3 separate regions of the Homo sapiens genome follow, and regions 1 and 3 are each linked to region 2. The links are contacts of gene promoters, found by promoter capture Hi-C in blood cells and fetal thymus (Javierre and others, 2016). All regions are on one chromosome and are shown on one strand. The core of a region is centred on a gene start or on the middle of the fragment in contact, and the rest is flanking DNA. Distances in the headings are between cores, read along the strand shown.

Region 1 (4,979 bases), core at 124-2,623, 540 kb after region 2:
GAGTTTTGGGTTGGTTGTGTAACCACCCGAGGAGTTTTTCCTGCCTGCTGTACAAAGAAAGAGTACAGCATTACAGTACAGAAAAAGTTTAATAGACATGAGGCCAGCCATGCCACGTGCCTCGTCCAAAGATCGTAGTTTAGGGGTTTTTCAAAGGCAGTTTAGGAGAGGGGTGGGGGTGGCTGGGGTTGCTGCTGATTGTTTGGGGTAGAGATGAAATCATAGGGAGTGGAAGCTGTCCTCCTGCACACTGAATCGCTTTTGGGTGAGGTCACAGGAGTGGGATTGGTGGGTACAGGTAGAGCCATGGGTGTCAGACATTCAAAAAACCTGAAAAGATACCTCAAAAAGCCAACCTACAATAGTGGTGTTATCTACAGGAATGGCTGGCTACGCCTTAGCAGAAATCAGGCTCCTCTCCACCCCCTAGCCTGATGGCCACTCATTAGCTTTAAAAAGGTGTTTGAGTTTGGGGGAAGGGCTATTATCATTAAACTATAACCCAGATGTCTTCTAAAATTAACTCAGCCCAAAAGCCCTGGAATGATTAAGGCAGCTTACAAGCTAAAGGCAAGAGGGGCAGGTGGGCTAGATCGGATCTCTTTCACTATTATAATTTTGTGCACATTTTAAACTGATGGAAAAACTACAACAAAAAAATTCATAGCTCAAATGGTTAACCTGCACTATAGAGTTAAGTAGAGTCTTCTAAAGCTCTCTATCTTCCTCTCTTTTTTTCTGCCTGCTTTAAATCTGCTGTTACTCAGCTGCTAGTGCTGAGATGATACTCATTATTTACGTTCTAACTAGAAGGTAAACATTGGAAACTCATTTAAATTTTTAAAAAAGGTAAAAGAGGTTTTGTTAAACCAAACAACCTAGAATTTTTAAATCTCCCTTAAAGTTAATGGAAATAAATCCAGCACCTCCTTTAAACCTTATTCTTTTTTTTTTTTTTTTTTTTTTTTTTGAGACAGAGACTCACTCTGTCGCCCAGGCTGGAGTGCAGTGGCCTGATCTTGGCTCACTGCAACCTCCACCTCCCAGGTTCAGGTGATTTTCCTGCCTCAGCCTCCCAAGTAGCTGGGACTACAGGTGCGTGTCACCACGCCCAGCTAATTTTTGTAGTTTTTTTAGTAGAGAAGGGGTTTCACCTCATCATTCTCAGCAAACTATCACAAGGATAGAAAACCAAACACCTCATGTTCTCACTCATAGGTGGGAATTGAACAATGAGAACACTTGGACACAGGAAGGGGAACATCACACACCGGGGCCTGTCATGAGGTAGGGGGAGTGGGGAGGGATAGCATTAGGAGATACACCTAATGTAAATGACGAGTTAATGGGTGCAGCACACCATCATGGCACATGTATACATATGTAACAAACCTGCACATTGTGCACATGTACCCTAGAACTTAAAGTATAATAATAAAAAAAAAAAAGAGAGAAGGGGTTTCACCGTTTTGACCAGGCTGGTTTCAAACTCCTGACCTCAGGTGATCTGCCCACTTTGGCCTCCCAAAGTGCTGGGACTCCCAAAGTGAGTCACCGTGACTGGCCCTTAAACGTTATTCTTAAAGCTGACTCTTTTTATTCAATTCTACTGCAAGTTCTCAGTAACTATCCAACTGCCTCTCTTGAGCAGCTTCACCCTGTTGATATTAATGCTTTTATAAGGGAGATAGTACACAATTGCTATTTGCAGGCCGACCTCCAAAACTACAGCCCAGGGGAAATTTCTTTATCTTTGTCCTAGCAATGTTATTTACCCCCATGCCACAACATTGATATGCTGAGGTACTAATTGTTTGGTTTTTTTCATACTCTTTACAGCCTTTCTTCTTTCCTGTCTCCCTAAGTTTACTGTATATTGTCATTTTCCTTAAATATTCTTCTGTGTTTATTCTGTCTGTCATGGCTAACTATTGCTTCCATGGCTACACCAAGCACCCACTATAACCAGTAATATCTCAGGTTGCTAACACAACACACAGCACTAACCGCTGGATATGCTCACGTGGGCAGTCACTCGAGAATGACATTACACTCCTAGCAGTTCCACTATCTATAGAAGAAATTGCTAACACACAAGCCAAATACTCTGGATTCAACTACGCCAGGTACACGCACACCAAAAATACAGGTTTATGAGGTAAACCTAGGCCAATCGATCCCTCATGCCAATCACCCACGGTGACCGAGCAAATAGGGAGGGCACCAGAGATGGCTTATAATGCTAGAAATTCCAAGGAGTCTGGCCCTTTCCCAGGGGCTTTAACACACAAGTCCATTGCAATTACACTGTCAGCTATGATCAAACAAACCAGAATGGAAGCCATGCAATGACTCTTAACAAGTTCACTGTGTACCTCCACAGTTTTTCTCTATGGTGAGGAAACAACAAAGTTCATGCCAGAAAGATTTATAACAATTCCTTTATGCCTATAAATAGTTCAGCAGCCAGGATGGAACATATAGAAATAGCAGTCAAAACTGGACGACTTCTCAACTTCACTAATACATCTACATCTTTTCCTCAATTTTCTCTTATCCCATTAATATTCAAAAATCATATCTGTCAGGCCCCACATTCACATAACACTACAAGTCAAACTTTTACCCCCTTATGCGTGGATAACTACTTTTTGGGTCACTGCCCATCCACATTTAATCCCAGGGGACCATGGGATCCCTCTATTTATGCAAACCATACGGGAATCTAAACTAATCACACCTATGCCTGGTTGTGAGGTTCCTCTTCAGGAGTTTCATTAAAAGGAACTGGGTTCTTCTTTTTATACAGATCTAACATATTTCTAGCCTTGTCTATTAAGTGAAGAGGCACTTACACTACAGTTGCAGCAATATCTGGAGTGCACATATATAACTCCTCAGACTTCGTAACCTCTAGCCAAGCTCCAAATTTAAAATCCTTCTTATGTTGGTCCCTCCAAAGGACATCAGAAGCAGTACTTAGTCTCCCATCATTTAGCATCCTCGCCAATAATAATCCTGTCATAGAGAAAAATGACCTAGGACATTCTGTAGCCAGTGCAATCTTTTGGTTTGCAGATATACCCATGCTTAAGTGCAGTATTCATAATCTCACCATCCTAGTCCAGCAATCTTGGGAAGCTACAATCACGGCCATTGAAGGCCAATGGCAGGCCCTGAACTCGCTGGCAGGGTATGTTTTGCAGAACCAACTCACTTAGGAGGTGCTTCCTGCTGAAGCAGGAGGCACCTGCATGCTGTTAAATAAAACTTGTTGCTTTTACATCAGTAACTCAGGTCAGGTAGAAGAAAGTTTAGAAAAGATAACAGACAACATAAAAATATTAAAGGGCCTTCAAAACAGAGTTCCTCAAGATTCCTTTTCAGCACAACTATTTCAAAGCTTCTCCAGTTAAATTTGGCCATGGGTTGCTCAACTTCTTCTGCCTATAATAAAGCTCATATTAGTTTGTTTATTTGCATACTGTATTGTTAATTCTACATCTGATTTTGTGTTTTCTAGGATACAACAATTTCAAACCAAAACAGTACTACAGCAAAGGTATCAGCTACATAACTTTCCTTTGAATGCAGCAGAACAAAATTTTAGGCTACAAATGCTGTTCTCCCATAGTCTCATAGCAACCCTGACCAATTTAAGTCCCAACTCAGGGATTTAGGTGTACATAACCTCCTGACCGACTAACAATCCTAGGTAGGGCCAACTATACACCCCTGGTCAGCAAGAAGCAGTTGGAAGATGAGACCTTTAACCACATGCCAAAGATTAGTCATTGTTGCTGTCAGGGTGTGAAGAAAGGTAGAGTCCTAATTCAGGAGAAGGAGTCAGGCTGGCAGGACCAGGGGAAAGCAAAACGAGAAAGCAGATAGATAAGCTATAAGTCTGCCTTTCTTCATGGTCCAGGACACATAGCCCTCATGTGTAAATCACTCACAATCTTCCTGTGCCGAGCTACCACCTGACTCTTGGCTGACAGAAAAATGCAAGTTAGCTCACTGCAACCTCGGCATTACCAATACTGCACAAAGTCTTCTTCAAGCGCAGAGCACAAGCACCATCCTATAAAATCCCTAGCAAGCTTTTGACTCTTTGCAGTCAGCTCCTCTTTCGCTGACCTGCCTGTTGCACCCTTGCAATACATTTTCCTACGTTCTCAAATAAATCTGCCTTTCTTTACCTACGACTGTCTTGGTAAATTCTTCTTACTGCCTGTACCACTGGCCCCAGATAGTTTCTGATCACCTGTGACACTCATTACATTAAATGTGGTTTCCTGGATTGGATCCTGGGGGAGTAAAAAAGACATTAGTGGACAACTGATGAAGTTTGAAAAATTCTTTAGTTTAGTCAGTAGTAACACATCAATACTAATTTTTTTTGTTTTGACAAATGTATGATGGTTATAGAAGATGTTAACATTAGGGGAAACTGGGTGAAGTGTATACAGAACTCTTTGTACTTTGCAATTCATAAATCAAAATATGTTTTAAAATGAAAAGTTTAAGAGGCCTCAGATTACTTTGAGATTAATTTACTGAGCCTATTAAATCCATCTATTGTACAATTTAAATAAATTTGGTTATCTTAAAATTTTTCTAAAATGATTATTGAATTCATTAGCGAAAACAAAACACCTATTTGTGTTTATAAGCAAAAGTCAGGTTTTGAATTTGGTATTAAACAATATCTTTTCAGAAAAGGAGATAAATATTGGTTGGGAATGAGTTACAAAGTCTCATCTTGCCAATAAGATGACCAAAACTTTGTATTCCCATTGAGAAAAACAAAAAATATTATAGTTAGCCAATGAGATGTCTAATATAGTTAATATATGGTTGACTAAATATAGTTTCCTTTCTGGCCTTCTGAGCATTCCTAAATCCCAAGTGTCACAGTCTGGCACATGTGTTCAAAGCCACAGAGAGAAAGTAAAACAATGACAAATTATGTAGGTAAC
Region 2 (4,277 bases), core at 1,183-3,682:
TTTCTATGTGTAAATTTTGCTTATTTATGGAGAACAGATAAGGAACCATTTGCAAGACTATTAGAGTTAATTAAAAGGTGGAGGTCAAGAAAAAATTAAAAATAATAGAGGAAACAGAATAGAGCAAATAATGTCAAATTTAAATGTATACGATAACATAAGCACTTTATCATGATATTAGTTCCTAAAAGTATTTCATAAAAAATATTGTTTGGTTTTAAGTAAATTAAATGAGCATGCATTATAAAATGAACTCTTGAATACTTGGCAAGTTGAGATCTTATGTTTTCTTAGAACCAAAATTGTGTTTAAAAAAGGTTTATCTTCTTAATTGAAATAAGTTCTATACATTTATGTAAATGTCTGGAATATATTTATGTGGTAAAGACCCTGAAGAATTTATAAAATGATGATTATCAAGGAAGGGAGGGGATTCCAATATGAAAAGCCAGGTCTACTTTAATCCTTGTTTTATCCTTGCTTTTCATTATGAAGCCCCCCTAACTTTCTCATGGCTCACTCTAGATTTTGGGTATTCCAATGGAAATTATTCAAATTTCACTTTACTATGTGTCTCAGAATTACGGAAAGAGCAAATTGTGATGTAAAGAGTTGTTGCTATATCATTCCTTTATAAGGATTTAGGAAGCTGGTATTTGGCTCTGTAATCTTGTTCTGAGATCAGAGTGTGCTTTTCTAGGAAAATGATTTTCTATTCAGAAAGTTACCATGATTTTGCTAGAGAGCTGGTTCCTGGTTAGATGTTTTATTTTTGCCATAAGCCCATTGTGTGGAGTTTTATTTTTGCCATAAACTCATTGTGTGGTGAGAGCTTTCAAGAATTTGACATCTCTGGTGTAGAGCTTTCAAATTATTTATTTTAGGTTTTATTGAAACTGAACAAACAAAATATTATTCATAAATCTATTATAAGACAGAGAAAAACTGCTCAATTCTGGGTGGGGTGGAAGTAGGAATAGGGGTACAGCTCTGTCCTTCGTCATTCTACTTATGCATAAAGCATGTTCTATTGAATTCCTTAGAGTCTGGACAGCACAGTTTGAAAAACCTTCAGTGAAATACAAAGATCACTAGATTAGAAATCGAAGGATTTAGAATCCCAGTTCTGCTATCAGCCAGCTGTGTTACTGAACCTCTATGGTACAGATTTCCTCACCTGTTAAATAAGGAGAATGAACTAGGTCTCTTTCAGGTCAAATATTTGAGGAAACCATTAGCAACTACATGTAAATCACAAAACTCCTATACTTTATTTGTTCACTACTGCAAAATAAGATGTTTCCTGGGTAAAATCCACATGCCCACCTCAAAGTTCTAAGTGTCAGGAGATTTTTTCTTTTAACCTTAAGAAATTTAAAGGAGTTCTGTGAAAATTGCAATATAAAATATCTAATTGTCCTGTTCTAAGCAGTTTCAACATTTCTGACTCTATTTGGGATAATCGGTGGTATTTCATTGATTCATTCGGCAAACACATTGAGTGTCCACTACCTGACAGGAACTGAGTTAGGTATAGAGGACAGAAAAGATGACTAAAGGATGTCCACTACTCTCCTCCCAATACAAAAGGTAATGTGTTTTGAACAATTTGTGTTTTTCAACGAAACCTTATCTGTTGTCTGCGATGATGCATCCTTTCTAAATGATAGGGGTGGCTTTGACATTTTAAAACTAAATGAAAAACGAATTGGCATCCATAAAGAACTGTGTATTTAAAACTATATTTTCTTTTCACAGAATGGCTTTATTGTAATAGATCTTTGATCAACTTGAGCAAAGAGTATTTAGTTTTATAGGGTATGACATGTTTTGCTTTCTGGATAAGCAGGGTCTCTCTTAAATATGAAGATGGCTCCAGTGTCCAGAGGGAGACTAAAATCTCTCAGCTGCCAGCCACGCACATTACCTGAATGATTCTGGATTACTACTGGCTTCTTGAGATGGGCTGGGGTCAAGACAGGGAAGAGTTTTGAATGAAGATGCCAGAAGAGGCCTTTGAGAGGGTGGATGGGAATTGCGAAAGGCCCATTTCCCCTAGACTTAAACCCAAATTCCCTAGCTGTGATGATACCAGGAACATCCTTCAGGGAAATCTCCCTTTGTTATCCACACTGGTAGAGCTCCCAGCTCAATCCACAACTGCACACCCCCTCACTCTAAGAGTCACTCTTCCCATGGTGTAGCCAACATCCACCCTCTTACTCTAGACGTGGCAGCCCTCCTAGATCCACCCAACCGTTGACTTACGTTCAAAGGCCATCACCCACCCCAGCACCATCTTCCAGGAACTGGCCTCTCCCCCATCAGTCCCCGCCCCTCTTCTGAGAGCACCCAATGGGTGGAGTCGGGGCTGCGGTGGGAGGGGCCTGAGGCGGGCACATTTAAAGAAAGGCAGCCGGCGAAAAGAGGCAAGAGAGGAGAAGAAAGAGAAACCAGGGGGGCGAGGCGCCGTCCAATGACAAAGCCCAGGGGTGGGCGCCGGCCGCCATCTTGTACCGGGCAGCAGGATATTCGCCCGCGTCCTCCGCCCTCGGAGGGGGAGGGGCGGCGGCGGAGGCGAGAAAAGTAGCGAGAGACGCCAGCAGCAGCCGCCGCCGCGGAGCCAACGCGGACTGGGACGGCGGCGGCAGTAGTGGGACCCGGCGAGCGTGAGTGGCCCGGAGCGGCCTTCGATGCGGCGCAGTATGAAGAGGCGGCGGCGCCGGCGCCCGGTCGCCCCGGCCACGGCCGCCCGGGGCGGCGACTTTAGGGCAGAAGACGGGGCTGGGTTGGAGGCGCGGGAGGAGAAGGTGGTGTACTCGCGGTCGCAACTGTCGCTGGCTGACAGCACCAAGGCGCTGGGCGACGCCTTCAAGCTCTTCATGCCCCGCAGCACGGAGTTCATGAGCTCGGACGCGGAGCTCTGGAGCTTCCTCTGCAGCCTCAAGCACCAGTTCTCCCCGCACATCCTGCGCAGCAAGGACGTCTACGGCTACTCCTCCTGCCGGGCCCTGGTACCCGACCCCCCGGGGCCCCCTACAGCCCGCGGCCAGGCGCGCCGGCCGGTTCCGCGCGCAGCGGCCAGGAGGAGGCGCCGCGGAGCCCGGGCGGCCGCTGCCCGCAGGAGGAAGCCCCGGCCGCCACCCCCACCGCCGCCGCCCCCCGAGGAGAGCTGCCCGGCCAAGCCCGTGGCCCCCGGGCCCTGCTTCGGGGGCCGCACCTTGGAGGAGATCTGGAGGGCGGCCACCCCGACGCTGACCACCTTCCCCACCATCCGCGTCGGCAGCGACGTGTGGGGCGAGCGCAGCCTGGCGGCAGCGCGGCGCAGGGCGCGCCAGGTCCTGCGAGTGAACCTGGAACCCATGGTGAGGCTCCGCCGCTTCCCGGTGCCCCGGGCATGAGGTGCGGCCTCCAGGGCGCCTCCTGCCGGCCCCGACCTTGGGACAGGCCTTCCGCCCGGAGGAATGAACAAGTGTCAGTCGAGTGTTTACAGATCCGGCCAGGACCCCGGCCCCCAATGCACTTTACGCGCGAAGAAGTTGCCGGATGGTTGTCCCTGTCCCGGGCCGCGGCGCGGTCGTCTTGGACGCTGGGGCAGGTGTGCCCTCTGCTGCCTCCCGTACCCGGCCTGCGGAGGGAGGGGACAGCTGGACCCGCAGGGGAGGTCCCTTTCTTCCTGACCACCGATTGAGACGTCTCCAGGACCTTAGGGGCAGATCCGTTTTCTCACTGTTGGACTCTACCTCACTGGTCTGGAAGTCCTCCGAAGACATTATTTTTCCAAAGGAATTTGGTTTCGTGCTTGTGTAATAAAGCCAGAATTTACTTGTTCTTTATCTCCCCCTTTTTCTATTTCACTGTCACCCCTCTTTGTGGACAGAAGTTCGAACATGTGGTGTTGCACTAGTTTGTGCTCAGGGTATTCTGAAGCCCACTCGTTTCCTAATTTTTACTGGATTCCAAAGCTTTGATCGAGGATATTTTTTAAGAGGTTCAAGCTTGTGACTGTTAGTAGTGCAAGGATTTGTATGGGCTCAGTGATTACAAACAAAGACATGCAAAATACAACTGTTTAAACATTTTCAAGGTATTTTTAAAGGTTTTGTATTGAAACAATGTTTATATTTACTGAGCTCCTAAAAATGGTAGAATACACATGAAAACTTTTGTTTAGGAAAAGTTAACTTGTTAAATTCTTTTGAATTGAATAAAAAAATGCATTGAAACCATATGGTGTGTGATTAAAAAAAATGAATAAATTGTGAAGAACTGGTTTT
Region 3 (4,794 bases), core at 1,085-3,584, 510 kb before region 2:
ATTCTATTTTGGATGCTATCTGCCTATATCCCTCAAAAATAACCCTTAGCCTGGGCACTGCTTTAGAGCCTTGCTCAATACTGACTATACAATTTGCTACTATTATGGTGTAGCAAAAAGGGCACTGGGTTAGATGTAAGGAAACGGGTTTTGATTCCAACTTGATCACTTACCAAATATATGACCTAAGTGACTGAGTTTCTCTTCATCTGTAAAATAGAGCTAATGATACCTGCCCTACTCTCCTCTGATAGTAGTTGTGAAGATGAAATGAAATAGTGAAAAAAGTGTAAAATGACGTCTTTTGAAATTTTTTTATCCCCAGACATAGGGCAATATTAAACATACTTTGGGTCTGTAATGTCCTAAATAGAACAGCTACTGAAAATACATAATTAACAGGTGGAAACCAGATAGCTATTCAGTTTCAACAGTCTCCTCCCTAGGAGATATTATGACAAGTCATCCAGCACATCTCCATAAAAATCATGTATCATGCCATTACTTCAAGCCCCTAAAAGATGAAATTTGGAAGAAATTAACGCTTCTCCAGTTTAGTACAATGTACTGATCACAATCAGTCTTAGCATATAGTTACAGCAAATATGCTAGGATATAACAATTTCCCCCACAGAACTAGCGACTAGAGAAAATGTGTAACACAAATCTATTTCTCAAGTATGAAATCACGATTTTAAGCCTCCACTCTCTCCCTGAAAAAAAAAAAAAAAAAAATGGAGCAAATTTAATTTCATCAGTGATTCTCTACTCTGTGGCACACGAAATCATACATATGCTTAAAAAAATGTTGTCCAGGCCCCATCCCCAGAGGATCTGATCTGTTTGGTGTGGGGTATGGCTTTGTGCACTAGTTTTTGTTTCCAGGTGCAGAATACTGAGATACACTGGGCTAAAAATGGTTGCTAAATTCCTACTTATTAAAAAAATCATTTATTTAATAAATACTATGTACAGGGCATTGTATTAGTTGCAATGCTGGATCTCACTAATGAACAATTCATCATGAGTCTGACTTTAGTGGAAAGATATAAGCAAATGACCATAGTTCTACAGAGCAGGACTTGGCTATGAATGGGTTAAAAGAAAAGAAGGGGCTAGATCAGTGGTTCACGCCTGTAATCCCAGCACTTTGGGAAGCCGAGGAGGGCGGATCACGAGGTCAGGAGTTCCAGACCAGCCTGACCAACATGGTGAAACTCAGTCTCTACTAAAAATACAAGAATTAGCCAGGTATGGTGGCACGCGCCTGTAATCCAACCTACTCAGCAACCTGAGGCAGGAGAATCGCTTGAACCCGGGAGACAGAGGTTGCAGTGAGCCGAGATCGCACCACTGCACTACAGCTTGGGCAACAGAGCGAGACTCCATTTCCGAAAAAAAAAAATGAAAAAAGAAAAAAAGCCGGGTGCGGTGGCTCACGCCTGTAATCCCAGCACTTTGGAAGGCTGAGGCGGGCAGATCACGAGGTCTGGGGATAGAGACCATCCTGGCTAACATGGTGAAACCCTGTCTCTACTAAAAATACAAAAAATTAGCCAGGCATGGTGGCGGGCGCCTGTAGTCCCAGCTACTCGGGAGGCTGAGGCAGGAGAATGGCGTGAACCTGGGAGGCAGAGCTTGCAGTGAGCTGGGATTGCGCCACTGCATTCCAGCCTGGGCGACAGAGCAAGACTCCGTCTCAAAAAAAAAAAAAAAAAAGAAGAGAGGGAGGTCTCCCAATGAGAGAAACTCACATGAGTAAACTCATATAGCTGGCAAAGTCCTAGTGAGATCAGAATATAGAATCTAGTTTTACCACAAAGTAGGATGGCCTTGTGTGTCATGTGATCATGAACACTGAGGCTATACTACTACTACTACTACTATATGGAAAGGTAGTCTAGGATCAGAGTCTTCAATTGTAGTTTAGGAAAACTATTTATTTATTTAGAGACAAGAATAGGGGCTCTGAAATCAGGCTGCCTGAGTTTAAATACCAGATTTGCCACTTACTAGCTATGTACCCTAAATAATTTACTTAAAATCTTCATGCCTTGTTTATAAAATGGCAATAAAAGTACCTACCTCACAGGCTGCTACAAAAACTCAGTGAGATCATGTAAAATGCTCAGAATAGAGCCTAACACAAAGCAAACCTTCAATGTACAGTGGCTAGTGTTATGATTAGCAATTATCAGACAATGAAGAACCACTGATGATTTTTTTTTTTAAAAGAGGTCTGACATGATCAGAACTATACTTTAAAACAGTCTCTTTGAGTCTATGGACAAAATCATACTGAAATACTGTATGAGTATGCAGGAACACCTATAATATTTTAAGGAGGGTATTTTTTTTTTTAAAGAGAGCACTCACATTCCCAGTCTCTATGAAAGCCACCCGTCTCCAGCTTCCTTTGCAATGGTTCTCAGTGCAGATTCCTTATTTATTAACTCTTAAGAGAGAAACTAGTCATACTATGTGAGTTCTTTAAACACCTAATATTAACAGTTTAGATAGGAGATTTTAACTCTTTCCATAGAAGTATTTCTGGCATCTTAAGTATACAGAATATAATTTAACCTATTTTGATAACTAAAAATCCTTATGAATATCCGTACTATGCTTCACATACAGATGTGAGCTGCACAGTCAACCTTATCTGAACTGAAAACATTTCCCATTTTTACCTTTATTATGAAATTTAGAAGCTGCACTACACAGGTATCTCTCTTCAGAGCTATCCTCTGTGTATGAACAGTGCTGTTCTTGGGGTCCACAGAAGCACAGCTGCAGTCTGTCTTGTCTTCCCCCTCCCTCTGCAGAGCTCTTTGGTTTCCTCATTCTTTCCAGCTAGAACTTTTTTCTTCCCTACAGCAGGTCCTGCAGTTTCCAACATTCACCAAGTATAGTACACTAACGTCTCTTTGCAACTTCTATCATTTCTTCAGCACTTTGTCTTAGTTATCAACCACCATCCCAAAACTCCTTAAATGAAGTTGGAAAAAGACATTATTTTAATTTCAAAACAGAGCTACCTATAAATAACCAAAAGAACCAAATAAATATTTACTGAATATAAGTTCTATGTGTTCACACCTCTCATTGCTCAAGGCTATCAGAAGTTTGGTCCTGAGAAAACTGAAGTTCTGCTACTGTAAAGCTACCATACAGTAAGAGAAGCTACACTTCAAGACAACAGACTTCAGTTTCACTCTTACTAGCTGTGTAACCGGGGACAGGTCACTCACTCAATCTCAGACTCACGGTCGGTCCCTCTACTTACCTCACAGGGCTATTCTGAGAATTCAATATATGAAAACAAAATTCAAAACTACATACAAATGGAAATTTTCTGTCTCTTCTGTCTATTCTCAACTATTCTGAAGAAAGAAAGCAAGGTCTCCAATACAATAAAGGAATACCAGGGAAGCCCTTACATTTCTTACTCCCCTACATATATTATACCAATTACATACTCATTTTGATAAACAAGCTCCTCTTTCAAATATCTCCTGGTAGAGCTAACCCTATTGTTCATTCATGCTTTTGTATACTGCTTTGGTATCAGATTCAACACAGCTTGCCTTGTATTTTAGTTAACTCTGCACATGTCATCTCTTCACGAGATCAGTGATTCTCAGTATCTATTTTCCAGAAGTTGTACTCTGAAATGTCATGTTCAGTGTTACAAATTTTACTTTCTTAGAATGCCCCATTGCTTTTGGTATGCAAACTTCCAGAAGCAAATATCCACAAAATCTTAAGACAGGAGAGAAAGAGAGAACTAGAAAAACCTAAGTCTCAATGAATGAAGAAGGAAACAGTTTTACAAAATGCTTACCTACACAGCACTTCCATGTACTTCATCTAATTTTATTTTAAACTCAGAACAACTCTGTGAATAAAGTATTATTATGGATGAGGAAAACAGGACTATGATGACTAAATGGGATCATTTTCTTTTTGAAGGCGAGAGCTGAGAGGGAAAAAAGACAAAAGGTATAAGCCAGCATGGGTTACTTCCTGCTTTCAAGTGCCTATTATTCCCTGAATCCTTACTTTTCCATCATCATCATGGAATCCACAGCAGGATCTTCTATATGCTCTCCCCTAATCCTGAAGGATTTCCATAACCAGTCCAGACTACACGCTCAAATTGTTTTCAAAGAGTAGGTGAAGAAAAGGTAATTTGCAATTAATTTCTATCTCTGAAACTGAGGTATTTTAAATGGATTACATAATTACATGCTAAAACAAGCCTCCATAACAAAGTATATTAAATGCAACTTTCTATACCAAAAGCATCTCTGAGGCTGTAATGCTGTTCTTTTAGAGTATTTTCAACAAAACTTCAAAAGATTTCACAGGTATTTGTCTACAACTCTAGTTTGCCACCGGGCTACAAGAAAAGACAAAACAACAACAAAAACCCTTAGTGGATTCGTTTTGGTCACTTACCACTTTCATGGCCCTGAACAATTAAATCTCTAGGCCTGTTTTCTTATTTGGACCTGTTTTTTTTATTTGTAAATAAGACTAGTGGCCAGGCCCAGTCACTCAGGCCTGCAATGCCAGCACTTTGGGAGACCAAGACAGGAAGATCGCTTGAGCCAGGAGTTCAAGACCAACCAGGGCAACATAGCAAGATCCCATCTCTAAAAAATTTTTAAAAATAAGTAAAAAAAAATGGGACTAGTACCTATCTACCTATCAGAATTGTTGTAGGTATAAAAGATATTACATCCCACAGACACTGCCCAATCCACATCTATACAAGTTCTTAGTAATTTC

What was found. Contacts are between HindIII fragments. The CHiCAGO score rates a contact against its expected background, and 5 or more counts as called.
Region 1: a fragment that was not itself captured here is called in contact with the fragment with the promoter of CCDC71L in region 2 in 1 of 17 cell types (neutrophils); the score reaches 5.3 in neutrophils.
Region 3: a fragment that was not itself captured here is called in contact with the fragment with the promoter of CCDC71L in region 2 in 1 of 17 cell types (fetal thymus); the score reaches 5.4 in fetal thymus.

What each region holds. Positions count from the first base shown.
Region 1 is chr7:106,115,340-106,120,318 of GRCh38, reverse strand. No RefSeq gene overlaps it. Among named protein-coding and RNA genes, the nearest start is that of SYPL1, 5.5 kb to the right of the region's middle. The HindIII fragment of the contact is 4,065 bases long and covers 1-3,405 here.
Region 2 is chr7:106,659,313-106,663,589 of GRCh38, reverse strand. It overlaps CCDC71L (coiled-coil domain containing 71 like), which reads left to right and starts at 2,432. Exons shown (of 1, transcript NM_175884.6): 1 at 2,432-4,277. The coding sequence starts at 2,694. The coding sequence ends at 3,401. RefSeq lists a silencer at 2,989-3,258 and an enhancer at 3,609-3,658. The HindIII fragment of the contact is 5,408 bases long and covers 1-3,967 here.
Region 3 is chr7:107,172,642-107,177,435 of GRCh38, reverse strand. All of the region lies in intron 1 of HBP1 (HMG-box transcription factor 1), which reads right to left. Among named protein-coding and RNA genes, the nearest start is that of HBP1, 6.0 kb to the right of the region's middle. The HindIII fragment of the contact is 5,805 bases long and covers 1-4,794 here.